Linked DNA regions of Homo sapiens: region 2 is linked to region 1. Evidence: promoter capture Hi-C in 16 types of primary human blood cells and fetal thymus (Javierre and others, 2016). All regions are on one chromosome and are shown on one strand. Each heading gives the region's core, a stretch centred on a gene start or on the middle of the fragment in contact. The rest is flanking DNA. Distances are from core to core; before and after follow the strand shown.

Region 1 (6,346 bases), core at 3,826-6,325:
GCTAGCTAAAATATCCTGTTTCTAAATACAGTGGGTTGCTGAGTTATAAGGTGATTCAGTTAATCCTTTGTGAAGGTGTCTAGTAAAATAGTTTGTCTGGGCTTGATTTCCAATTATGTCTTTTGATAAAAATTCAAATGTGTATCAAGTAACCTACAGTACCCCTTCCAGTTTGTAAATTTCCTGTGAGTCTTTCAGCTTTTTAGTAAGGATAGAAGCCACCTAGGATTCTGACAGACGGTTGAAGGACTTTGATCTCTAGGCCATTGTGCAAATCTTGCAGGTACTTAGCTCAGGCTCCATGACAAGTCAAATCCTAGAAGTGGTGTTGTAACTCCAGGGGAGGGGTTGGCAGTGGGCACAAGGGTCTCCTGGAGCAGTCTCAGTTGAAAGCAGCAAACCATTTTCCCGGCAAAGACAGGTGGAAGTAGAAAAAGGCAATTCGGCTTTATTTTACCTTATCTTTATTTTTGGAGATCTATGTTTGAGACCAGAACTAGCTGTAGAATTACAGAGTTGACCTTAGATAGCTGACCTCTGTGGGTATCACCTACTGTCTTTAAAAAAAAAAAAAATCTTAAGGTGGGGTGTGGTGGTTCACACCTGTAACCCCAGCACTTTGGGATGCCTAGGTGTGGGGAATCACTTGAGGCCAGGAGTTGGAGACCAGACTGAGTGAGATCTCATCTCTACAAAAAGAGTTTTTAATTCATTTAAAAAAGTATTTAAAATTATACAAATAAAACATAAATACATACTCTTTGTAAAATGTTCAAATAGTGGGCAGGTGCAGTGGCTCACGCCTATAATCCCAGCACTTTGGGAGGCCGAGGCACGTGGATCGCCTGAGGTCAGGAGTTCAAGACCAGCCTGGCCAACATGGTAAAACCCCGTCTCTACTAAAAATACAAAAAATTAGCTAGGCATGATGGCAGGTACCTGTAATCCCAGCTGCTCGGGTGGCTGAGGCAGGAGAATCGCTTGTAACTGGGAGGCAGAGGTTGTAGTGAGTCAAGACCATGCCATTGTACTCCAGCTTGGGCAAAAAAAGAAAAGAAAAAAAAAAGAAAAAAAGAAAAAAAAAGTAGTCTATAGAATAAAAAGCCCAAGTTTCCTTTTACCCTTCCTCATTCCCACTCCTCTCCCTACAGACAAACATTGGTGTTAGTTGGGGGGGAGAAGTATATCTTTTCAAATGTTTTGATGCATTTAGTTATATATAAATATAGATATAGTTATTTTCTTCCACACAAATGGTAACATAATGATTATATATTTTTTCTTTCCTTCATCTAACTTTCTAATTTAGCAATAAATCTTAGAACCATTCCATATAAGCAAATGTAGACTTACCTCATTTTTAAATTATTATTATTTTTTTAGACTGATTTTTGTATTTTTGTATTTTAGAGACAGGGTTTCACCATGCTGGCCAGGCTGCTCTCGAACTCCAGACCTCAGGCGATCCACCCGCTTCGGCCTCCCAAAGTGCTGGGATTACAAGTGTGAGCCACTGTACCCGGCCAACTTACCTCATTTAAAAAAAAAAAAGAGGCTGGGCATGGTGGCTGATGCCTGTAATCCCATCACTTTGGGAGGCCGAGGTGGGCAGATCACGAGGTCAGGAGATTGAGACCATTCTGGCTAACACAGAGAAACCCCGTCTCTACTAAAAATACAAAAAATTAGCCAGGCGTGGTGGCGGGCGCCTGTAGTCCCAGCTACTTGGGAGGCTGAGGCAGGAGAATGGCACGAACCCGGCAGGCAGAGCTTGCAGTGAGCCAAGATCATGCCACTGCACTCCAGCCTGGGTGACAGAGTGAGACTCCGTCTAAAAAAAAATTCATAATATTTCATTAAAAAGTACGATATTTATTTATTTATTTATTTATTTATTTATTTTTGAGTCACAGTCTCACTCTGTCACCCAGGCTTGAGTGTAGTGGTGCGATCTACGCTCACTGCAACTTCTGTCTCCCGGGTTCAAGTGATTCTCTTGCCTCAGCCTCCCGAATAGCTGGGATTACAGGCGCCTGCCACCACACCTGGCTAATTTTTGTATTTTTAGTAGAGATGGGGTCTGGCCCAAAGTACCATACATTTTATTATTGTTTCCAATCTTTTGGGTCCCCATAAACAACGCTTCCATGTATATCTGTATGCACTCTGCACACATTTGCAATGTTCATCTGTGGAGTAAATTCTTAGACATGGAATTACTGGGTCAGTGGGGTCGGCATTTTCACTTTTGATAAACTCGGCCAAAATGCTGCTCTACATAGGGGTTTTGGTAACTTTTACTAGCAACCGTGCAGGGAAGGGCCTTATTCCTCATCCTTGTTCTGTTTAGGGGGCCTTTTACTTCTAAGATTACAATGTTGTAAGTCGATTTCTCCCTTTAGTACCCTGCAAGGCCTATTTGCACATATGCCTACCATGTGCCAGACACAATACTAGGTGCTGAGAATACAGCTGTGAACAAGACGGAAGTGATCCTTCTTCTTACTATATGTGGGGTCCCTGGCTCTTGCACAGTTCTGCTCTTGCACAGTTGCTTGAAAGCACAAGGGACTCAGTAAATGTAGGCTGAAAGACCTGGCCTCCAACTAAGGAAAGGGAGGTGTCGAAAAGTATTTTTAGGCTGGGCTTGGTGGCTCATGCCTGTAATCCCAGCACTTTGGGAGGCTGAGGCGGGTGGATTACCTGAGGTCAGGAGTTCAATACCAGCCTGACCAACATGGTGAAACCCTGTGTCTACTAAAAATACAAAAATTAGCTGGGTGTGGTGGCACGTGCCTGCAATCTCAGGTACCTGGGAGGCTGAGGCAGGAGTCTTGCTTGAACTGGGGAGGCCGGAGGTTGCAGTGAGCTGAGATTGCACCATTGCACTCCAGCCTGGGCAACAAGAGCAAAACTCCGTCTCAAAAAAAAAAAAAAAAAAAAAAAAAAAAAAAAAAAAAAAGATGTGTTTTTAGGACATATGCTCAGTTAACTAGGCCAGTCACAAAAAGACAAATACTGCATGATTCCACTTATATGAGGTATCTAAAGTAATCAAACTCAGGAACATAAAGAAGAATAGTGATTGTCAGGGACTAGGGGGAGGGGGAAATGGAAGGTGTTAAACAACAGATGTAGTTTCAGTTTTGCAAGATGAAAAAGTTCTAGAGATCTGTTGTACAACAATATGCATATAGTTAACACTACTGTATTCTACACTTAAAAATGATTAAGATGGTAAATTTCATGTGTTTCTTACCATAATTTTTTTTAAGTATTTTTTTGGGCACGAGAGGTAATATGAGAGAGATGGCCAGAAGACCACCTACTGAGCCTAGTCTGAGGACAGGGGTGAGCACAGGGATAGGTTTGAATTTCTTTTTCTTTTCTTTTTTTTTTTTGGAGACGGAGTCTCGCTCAGTCGCCCAGGCTGGAGTCAAGCGGCGCGATCTCGGCTCACTGCGACCTCTGCCTCCCGGGTTCACGCCATTCTCCTGCCTCAGCCTCCCGAGTAGCTGGGACTACAGGCGCCCGCCACTACGCCCGGTTAATTTTTCTGTATTTTTAGTAGAGACGGGGTTTCACCGTGTTAGCCGGAATGGTCTCCATCTCCTGACCTCGTGATCCGCCCGCCTCGGCCTCCCAAAGTGCTGGGATTGCAGGCGTGATCCGCAGCGCCCTGCCTTTTTTTTTTTTTTTTTTTTTTTGAGACAGAGTTTTGCTCTGTCGCTCAGGCTGGAGTGCAGTGGCGCGATCTCTGCTCACTGCAACCCACGCCTCCCGGGTTCAAGCGATTCTCCTGCCTCAGCCTCCTAAGTAGCTGGGATTACAGGTGTGCGCCACCACGCCCGGCTAATTTTTTGTATCTTAGTAGAGATGGGGTTTCACCGTGTTAGCCAGGATGGTCTCGATCACCTGACGTCGTGATCCACCCGCCTCAGCCTCCCAAAGAGCTGGTATTACAAGCGTGAGCCACCGCGCCCGGCCTTAATTTCAAAAGGTAATAGAGCTAACCAGTCAACACTTCCTTCCCAATCCTTTCTCTTTTGGGTACAGGTGAGTATAAAATCTTACCAACTATCATAGTTAACAAACAAACCATAGCAAAATATGTTTCTATGCTTTTTCTCTTGAGAGCAAAGGACATGGGTATCCTTTCTTAGACGGCTTCTAGGACTTAAGCCAGGAAGAGAACTTGCGTCTCCTACGTCTCTGGAAGGCGTCTCTGGAAGGTGTCCCTTCTTCAATAGACAGAACTAAAACAGAAAGTTCCCTTGACCAAAGCGAAGCAAGCGAGGACAAGGTGGCCACCTGGGTGACTACAACCCCCAGCATGCACTGCTCCTTCTAGGGCGCAGCGACGAACGAAGACGCATTACTTCTGCGATGGGAACGGGGTAGAGGAGCGCGACTACACATCCCAGGATGCAAAGCGCCCCAACTCTAGTCACAACCTGGCTTGCTTTCTGGCTGGCGTTCCCCGCCAAAGGGACACTAGGGGAGGGGATTGTTTCGGTTGGGAATCCCCGAAGTCTACTGGACCGTGACATTTCGAAAGAGGAAGGAAAGTGGAGGAAAGCTGTTTCACTGTAATTCAAAGTAGTTCCCGCGCAGGGTGGCGAGGAGTTATGGGCCCCTTCCATAATTTATTGTTCCTCAAAGGCAATGCCAAGCCCCACTGGTCGCAGCCCTCCAGGGCAGGTGGGAAGTACGTGAAGCCCCAAATCGAAGTTATCAGCCTCTCCCTATTGGCCCTCGCCTCGAGCGCAGGCGCGAGGGCTCTGACTCCGGTCCCCTGGGCCTGGTGAGCGGCAATTGGCCAAAGTCCGCGAAGTAGGAGGCCGGATTGGTAGTTGCTAGCAGGAGCCTGATTTCTTCCTCGACTTCTGCAAGTGATAGAGTGTGATTGGTTTAAATCCGCGGGCACCTGTCGGTGATTGGGTAGAAGCCACAGGCGGGGCGCGGCCATTGGCTGGCTCTGGGGCCATCCCTCCTCGGGCGGGCAGCGAATGATGAAATGGGAACGGGGAGGGGAAAGGCCGCGACGTGAGCGCGCGACCTCCGGCGCCATTTTGTAGAGAAACAAGCGGAGTTAACCGAAGAGGGGGTCGAGGAGAGCCGGAGTCGGGGACCCAGGAGTTTCCTGTGTCCAGCGCTGCCGGAGCCGCCTGAGGTGAGGCGGGTTGGCGTCAGGGGCTAGGGTAGGGTGGCGGTGTCAGCTTGGGAACGCGAGAGCCGGTGGGAGGAGGAACAGGGGTGGACCTGGGGCCACTGGAAGCGTTTCCCGGAGCTCTAGGGAGTGAGAGGCAGCCGGGACGGGGAAGTGGGACGAGGCGGGAGAGGGCGGACTCTTCTCCACACGGCTCTCGGAGGCTTCGCGCTCTGAAGATGAGAGGCCAGCGAGAAGGCTCCAGGAAGCGGAGGGTAGAGCGCGGGGTGAGACCCATGGTGGTCTCTGTCCCGGGCCTGGAGGCTCAGGGGGCGGCAGCGGCGGCAGTTCGTGTCGCTGGGCCTGGCTTCGCGCGGGTTGCACCCCTCTGAGACCTCCACGACCTCCTTAACTACTGTTTCTGTCTCTGCTCCCTGATGGTTGCAGTGGGCATCGGCTTCCGAGGCCTAGGGCTTCTGGCGGGGGGGACCGTGTTTGGAGTTTTTGCATGTTTCCAGTTCTTCTCCGTGTACTCGGAGCTGCCACTCTCCCCGTCTTACGCCCCCAGCACGTTGTCAAAGCCCCCCAGGTTTCGGGTGTCCCCGGATGGGAAGGGCGGGCGGGAGCAAGCACTTCCTTATTACTTGCTACAGGTTTTGTTCCACTCGCGCGCCTGGGCGCTCACACTTTCTTTGAAGTTGGCCCCCACCTACTCGGTCCGGTGTCTGCAGTAGTGGCGGTCCTGCTCACCCAGGACAAGTGTCCCGCTAGTGAGCTGAGCACTTGTAGGCCTCAAGGCTGATAAGATCCACGGCAGGTCTTGTAGAGGTACTTAAGGCCAAACACAAATAATACTTTTTCAGTACCACCTCCTTTGCAGAATTCACCCAAGAGGGCTCACAGATACTAACTCCCCGAGGAGTAAGCTTTGTAGATTAAAAAAGAATGCTTGACATCTGTGCGTTTGAAAATGTTGTATTTAAAATAAACTTTATGACAAACTTTTCCCATGAAGTTAATCAAATGTCACATTTCTTAGGACTCTAATAAAGTCTGTTTTCTTCCTGAAAACTGAGTAACAATGCTTAACCTACCCTGCCGATTTCTCTACAATTCGATAGCCTGTGACTACTTGGGTTTTTTTTTTTTTTTAAGTCAGTGATTGAGTGAATATAATTATACTGTTTGAAACAATGC
Region 2 (6,754 bases), core at 3,778-6,277, 1.4 Mb after region 1:
CACATACTGCGCTGGTTATTTTACAGTAGAGACTTAAGGAGGTTAAGTCACTCCACTAAGCAAGAACAGATGGTAGGTAAAGGGCCTGGAAAACTGCGGGATTCTACTCAGTCGATAACAGACACTTCTAACCCTTCAAAGTTCAAAGTACAACACTCCAGGGGGAGCAACCTCTCTCAGAGAACTATACAAGACAGGACCTCGGAGTCTCAGCCGACCGCCTCGGTCTCAGTCGGTTTCCCTCCCCAAAGACGGGGAAAGTGAGGCAGCAGGAGAGACAAATGCCTAATTTGGACTCACGCAAGGGGTGTTGGTGGGATAGACTCTCCCCACCCCACTCGGGCAATAAGCCCGGAAGCAGTTGGATCCTGTGTCTGGGACACCTGGTCGATCTACAGAGAGAGGGAATAATTCCCGTTTCCCTTTCACTACTCCCCACTCTGGCTTTCCTGTGGATGGAGGTGTCTTCTTCCCATCACCGCCCAGAAATCCCCTCTCCCCAAGGTCCTTACCCAATTTTCAGCTCCGGCTTCCGTAGTAGGACATTCCGCTAGTTCTAGCTCCTGCTTCCTAGCCCCATTCTCTCTCTATCCCAAGGCGTTTCTAAATCTCCCCGGGGAGGTATGCCTCATCCGTGCCACCTAGACCGTAAACTCCACAAAAAGAACCCTCCTAAAGCGTCCCTTCATCTACCCTTTCTATCCCGGGCACCCCTGAGTAGGTCAGGACCCCATCGGTACCAGGAGCCACCCCAGGAGATAGATAGCTGCCTCTCACCTGGGCCCTGTTAGCCGCAGCCTCCTCAGAAGGGCGACCCCCAAGAACCTCTTCTGGTGAGGACCCCCGAAAGAGGGAACACCCTCTTCTAGGAACCTCTTCAGATCCCTCAAGCGCGGGCCTCGGTGGAAAACCTCTCGGCTGTTTCTCAGGTTCTGACCAACGCCACCTCTCTCCCGGGCCCTTTCCAGAGCCTACCCCGGCCCCAGTCCGGTCCGCCCGCCCCAGGCTCGAGCGGCTGTTCCCCTCCCTCACAGACGTCCCCAACCCTCAGACTCCCTCCCGTTCCGCGTGCCCAGGGCTCAGAGCAGCGCGGTCGGGCTGTGGCACTGACTTTCTCTACCTCCCGGGCCCACCGGAGGGAGGGGGCGGCGGCGGCGGCGCGACTCCTTTGTGACAGGTCCGAGAGAACGGCAAAGATGGACGCGAGGCCACGGCGCTGCCATTACGCGCAGAGCCCACCCCCGCTTCGTACCGCCCCAGCCCTCCCTCAGTCCCCTAGGAAACGCCCCTTCCTCGGTGGCAAGCCCTCTCCTTGACAGCCAATCACCTTTCAAAAATCGTGTCACGTGATCAGCGGGACCGGCCCGCCCTCCAGGCGCAGACTGGCCAGTCCTCATCCTGAGGCGTGAATGGCCCAATCAAGTCTCTCCGGCTCGTTTTCAGGGTACCGGATTTCCATCGGGCTCCCGGGGAGGAAGAGCTCCGCGGATTGGGTTACGTCGCCGGAAGTGGGGCGGGACTCTATTGTGGCGGTGAGGAACAGGAAGCCCTGAAGGGTCAAAAGAAATACAAAAGCAAAGGCTATTTTCTTTTTTTTTTTCTTTCTTTCATTCATTCCTTCCTCTGTTTCTTTCTTTCTTCCTTTCATTTTTTTTTCTTTTTTAAGAGCGAGCGGCTCTGCGGTGGCGGTTTGGGGTGGGCGCCGCCGAGGTGAGGTCGTCTCGCCTCCCGCGCGCCGGTAGGTGAGTGCGGCCTCGGTCCTGGCCTGGCGGCGACACCTGGGTTCCAGCTTCCTTACGGAAGAGATGAGCTGCGGCTGCTGTTAGGGTTAGGGCCAGGCCTGTTCTCAGTCCGCGCACCCGCTCCTTGTCCGGAGTAGCCGAAGCCTGGGGCTTGCGGGCCCAGCCTGAGGGGAGCTGAGGGTGCCCGCGGGAAGGCATCTGGGTCGCGGCGAGGACCCTTTCAGGCGGGCCCAACACTGCCGGGCGTTTAATGGGGTTTCCCCAATTTTCTGCTAGGTAGGGCCACCCAGGTTTCAAGTGAGTAGCAGGCTCCGTTCCAGAGGTCTTGGAACAGGTCCAGGTTACTCACTCGGATGTGCGGCGTCTGGTTGGAAATGGTTGAATCCCAGAATGGCAGTGCAGGATGGGAAGCACATTTATTGTGTGCCATGTACCAGTTGCTGTGCCAAGCGAATTTTCTATTACGGAAAACAAGCCAGCTGGCCCGTTTTGCAGAAAACTTAAGAAACAAAGAGAGTTGAAGCGTCATGCTTGAGAGTTGGTGGTCCTTGTGACTGTCAGTCCACACAGAGGAAAGGGGGAGACCTGTTTGTTCGTAGTCGTGGTTCTTTAATGTTAGTGGAAAACAAGATCTCCTGGGGCCCTTTTAAAATGCAGTTTCTCAGACTCCCGCACGCTCGGGTAGCCCGACTGGTTAGTTCAGGAGTGGGACCCAAGAAGCCAGATGCGAGCCTGGTGATCGGAATTCCCGATGACCTCTTGCCTACCACCTGTGACATAAGATTTGTCGATTCATCAGTTATTTGGTGTATTCATGTGTCCACAGGGACACCATAAAATGGAAGGCACCCTTCTGAAATATTTGAAGGGAATCAGTGGGTAGACTCCTTTTTGATACAAAGTATTGAGCCGACAGCAGCTTTTACAGTCTTTTAGTTAGATGACCTGCGAACAATTTGTAAGGATCTGAAAGTAGAGGCTGCCCGATTATCTTTCTCAACTGAAGTCTTCATGTCCTTACCCTGTGGGGAAGTGCTTCATGATATAAGAAAGGAATAATTGTGTCAAAACCATTTAGTTGATTATCAGTCTTCACTTTCATCTTCCAAGAATGGTGATGCTTGGTTAGAATCAAGCTGCTGCTTTAGCTATTGAAAACCACGTATGTGGTAAATCAAGTAACAAGTGCGATGTACGTACAGGGTCAGTCATAGTGTAATTATGCCTTTATGGCAGCTAAATTAAGCATTTTCAACGTGTTCACCATTAGTCACCTTTTGAACATACTTTGTCTTCATTCTTAAATATTATGTTTCACTCTTTACTATAGAATATGTTGTTAAGATTGTTTTGTCTAAAATCAAGTATCGACAAGTTTAAAAAAAAGATTGTTTTGTGTTTGGTTTTCTGTATTTCCACTATGCTCTATGGAACTATGGGTTTGTTTTTGTTCAATTTGTTTGGTATTTATTAGACTTCTTGAATCTGTGGATTAGTGTCTTTCATTAATTCTGTAAAATTCTCAGCCATTTTATATGCATATATTGCTTCTTCCCATTGTTTCTCTTTTTTTTTTTATCGATTTAACTAAACCTTTTCACTCTTTTCTCTATGTCTTTTACTCTGTTCTTTCGTAGTACATTCTGGATAATTTATTCTCAAGTTATTTCCATTGTTATTAAACTCGGCCTCTGAAATCTTAAATCATATATTGCAATTTTTAGTTTCTGAAGTTCTGTTTGGTTTGTGACACTTTTACAGTTTTTTATTTCTTACTATTTTGAGGCTTAATTTTATTTCTTTAAACATGGAAAGTATAGTTGTTTTTATAATCTCTATGTTTAATTCCACTGTCTGAATTCCCTTTGGGGGAGTCTGTTTCTGTTGTCCATTATTCCTGCTGTTTTACTTCCCAGTTCACCTTTACTTTGAAGCTGTAGTTCTTTTGGGCACAAGATTAAGATGGAGAGGGAGGTAGTTGTCAGACTCCACTCCCTGGATGGGCTCCTGGCTTGAACTTGTTTCTGTTATCTCATAAAGGCACTGAAACTTTAGCTTTTAGGTCAGAGAAGTCCTCAGGATGAAATCCATTTTGAATATTGGGCTTAATTTCTGGTTTTCACCTTCTAGATTGTGTCCAAATTCTTTACTATCTTGTTAGCTTTTCTATTTAAGAATTAATATTTTTGGCTGGGCGTGGTAGCTTACACTTGTAATCCCAGCACTTTGGTAGGTCGAGGTGGGCAGATCACTTGAGGTCAGGAGTTTGAGACCAGCCTGGCCAACATGGTGAAACCCTGTCTCTACTAAAAATACAAAAATTAGCCAGTCATGGTGGCGGGCACCTGCAATCCCAGCTATTCGGGAGGCAGAGGTAGGAGAATCGCTTGAACCTGGGAGGTGGAGGTTGCAATGAGCTGAGATCATGCCACTGCACTCTAGTCTGTGTGACAGAGCGAGACCCTATCTCAAAAAAAAAATTATTTTTGACAAATTTCCAGCATATTTAGTGCAGAGGTGGAGAATTGGTTTCAATTACCTAGCCCACTATTTCAAGAAATGAAAATCCCCCTGTATTCTGAAATTTGGAATGTGAAATTTGTGTGATTTCCAAGTTAAAGATGGTTATTCTTCATATACCTAAAATTTCCACCACTTTTCACTGTGCATCGTCACAGCCATTATGAAAATTAAGCTTCCCCAATGCTTATTCTAGTCTTCCTTTCTGAACTGCTTAGTGCCTCTTATGGCCTGTAACCTAGTTTTACTTTTCCTTAAATTGCTGTGTGCCAACCTTATGTCTTTTACTGAATGAGTGTAAGTTCCTCAGTTGCCTGTTTAGTACATAGCATTGTATCTTGCACATAATAGGTTCTCGGTAAATATTTGCTTCAAAAATCTTTTTTCTTTGAGATGGAGTCTCGCCCACTTCGCGCAGGCTGGAGTGCAGTGGCGCGATCTCGGCTCACTACAACCTCCGCCTCCCGGGTTCAAGCAACTCTCCTTCCTCAGCCTCCCGAGTAGCTGGGATTACAGGCATGTGCTACTACGCCTGGCTAATTTTCATATTTTTAGTAGAGACGGAGTTTCACCATGTTGGTCAGGCTGGTCTCGAACTTCTGACCTCAGGTGATCCACCTGCCTCAGTCTCCCAGAGTGCTAGGGTTACAGGCATGAGCCACTGCGCCAAAAAAAAAAAAAAAAAAAATCTTAGTTGGCCTTGTCTGGTTATTGTAATGCAAAGTTTTTTTTTTTTTTTTTTTTTTTTTAAGGGAAATGGGTATCTCCTTATGTTGCCCGGGCTGGCCTTGAACTCCTAGGCTCAAGCAGTCCTCCAGTCTCAGCCTCCTGAGTAACTGGGACTGCGTTTTTTTGTTTTATTTTGTTTTTAATTTGGTCTTGAAGTGGAGTTATATAGGGTGGGGGGAGGGAGGATGGAGTATGACTTGAGGTGTGGGTTAGGTTCTGAAGCGAGCCTAGATGACAAAATAGCTTACAAGCAAAGCTACCCTTGAAATCTCAGGGAGGCAGCATGTTAATTGTAGGAATACCAGTGTTGCAGAACTCTGACATGGCCAGTGTGATATTGTAAAATACATATTTGGCCTTCATCCCTGTCTCCTGTGGCATATGACTCCTATAATCCTTGAAATCTCCAAAATGATTAGTGTCTTTTTATATGCTAAGGAGCTGACTGATGGCTGGCAGCCCCTAAGTAACTTTAGCATGGGGGCTGGTCACTTGAAAGACCCAGGCAGGATTAGAGGGTTGGGACCTTCAACCAATGTCCAACCTCTGGGGAGAGGAGAAGGCAGACGAGCTGATGACCACCAGCGTCACTGGTTTAATTAGTCATGTCTAAGTAATGAAGCTTCCATAAAAATCCAAAAGACTGGGATTGGGGAGCTTCTGGATAGGTGGACATGAGAGGTTCCTGGATGATGGTGCCCCAGAGAGTGCATGGAAGCTCTGTGCCCTTCCCACATGCCTTGCCCTATGCATTGCTTCATCTGTATCCTTTGTAATATGCTTTTATAATAAACCAGTATATGTAAGTAAAGTGTTCCTCTAAGTTCCTCTAAGTTCTGTGAATTGGTCTAGCAAATTAATAGAACCTAAGGAGGGGGTCATGGGAACCCTGATTAATAGCCAGTTGGTTAGAACTACAGGTAAAACAACCTGATTCTTGTGGTTGGTATCTAAAATGGAGGCTAGTCTTGTGGGACTCACCCCTCAACCTATGGGATCTGACGCGGTCTCCATCCAGGTAGGTAGTGTCAGAATTGAACTGAATTAGAGGACACCCAGCTGGTTGGTGTCTGCTACAGAATTGGTTGGTTGCTTGGTGTGTGGGGACATATCCCTCACAGAATTATACTGTGTTGATTGTTGAGTGAGAGAATAGCAAAAATGCTTTGGTTTGGTTTGGGTTTTTTTTTTCTCTATATCCTCAGGCAAGTTTTATTTCGGCTTTGGAAAAAACTGCTGTTTTTCTTCCTGTGAGCCCCAGATGAAGTTGTTGGTTTGTATTTAGGAGTCACAATATGTAAAAAATACAATGAATACAATCATTCATGCATAGTGAGGGAAGTATTTATATTCAGAGAGGTGCATGTGAATGAGGATCAGCTAAGGGAACCGATATTTAAATTAGTTATCTTTCTTCTAGTGTGTATAGGTGAATTCAAGATAAATGCACATTTGAGACCCTGCCCTTGTGCTATGGAAAGATAAATAAATCAATACTTTTTTTTTAACTTCTTTTTTTTCCCCCTCGCCAGGCAAGGTCGGTCTTGTGCTGTTGCCCAGGCTGTAGTGCAATGGCCCTCATAGCTCACTGTAGCCTGGAACTCCTTGGCTGAAGCCTTCCTCCCACTTCAGCCTCCTAAGTAGTGCACCATCACACCTGGCTAATTTTTAAATATTTTTGTAGAGAGAGAGTCTCACTGTGTTGCCCAGGCTGGTCTTAAATTCCTGGCCTTAAGTGATGCTCCCAGCTTGGCCTCCCACAG

Evidence for each region. The method cuts DNA at HindIII sites, captures the fragments that hold promoters and counts their contacts. A CHiCAGO score of 5 or more calls a contact.
Region 2: a contact is called between a fragment that was not itself captured here and the fragment with the promoter of CNOT1 in region 1, in 1 of 17 cell types (fetal thymus). The highest score is 5.4, in fetal thymus.

What each region holds. Positions count from the first base shown.
Region 1 is chr16:58,628,555-58,634,900 of GRCh38, reverse strand. CNOT1 (CCR4-NOT transcription complex subunit 1) reads left to right here and starts at 5,075. Exons shown (of 49, transcript NM_016284.5): 1 at 5,075-5,173. RefSeq lists enhancers at 4,208-4,697, 4,988-5,197, 4,646-5,321, 5,322-5,998. The HindIII fragment of the contact is 12,291 bases long and covers 1-6,077 here.
Region 2 is chr16:57,180,809-57,187,562 of GRCh38, reverse strand. PSME3IP1 (proteasome activator subunit 3 interacting protein 1) reads left to right here and starts at 1,524. Exons shown (of 7, transcript NM_024946.4): 1 at 1,524-1,742. RSPRY1 (ring finger and SPRY domain containing 1) reads right to left here and starts at 1,234. Exons shown (of 15, transcript NM_133368.3): 1 at 1,112-1,234. RefSeq lists enhancers at 1-538, 1,850-1,899 and a silencer at 940-1,149. The HindIII fragment of the contact is 1,176 bases long and covers 4,440-5,615 here.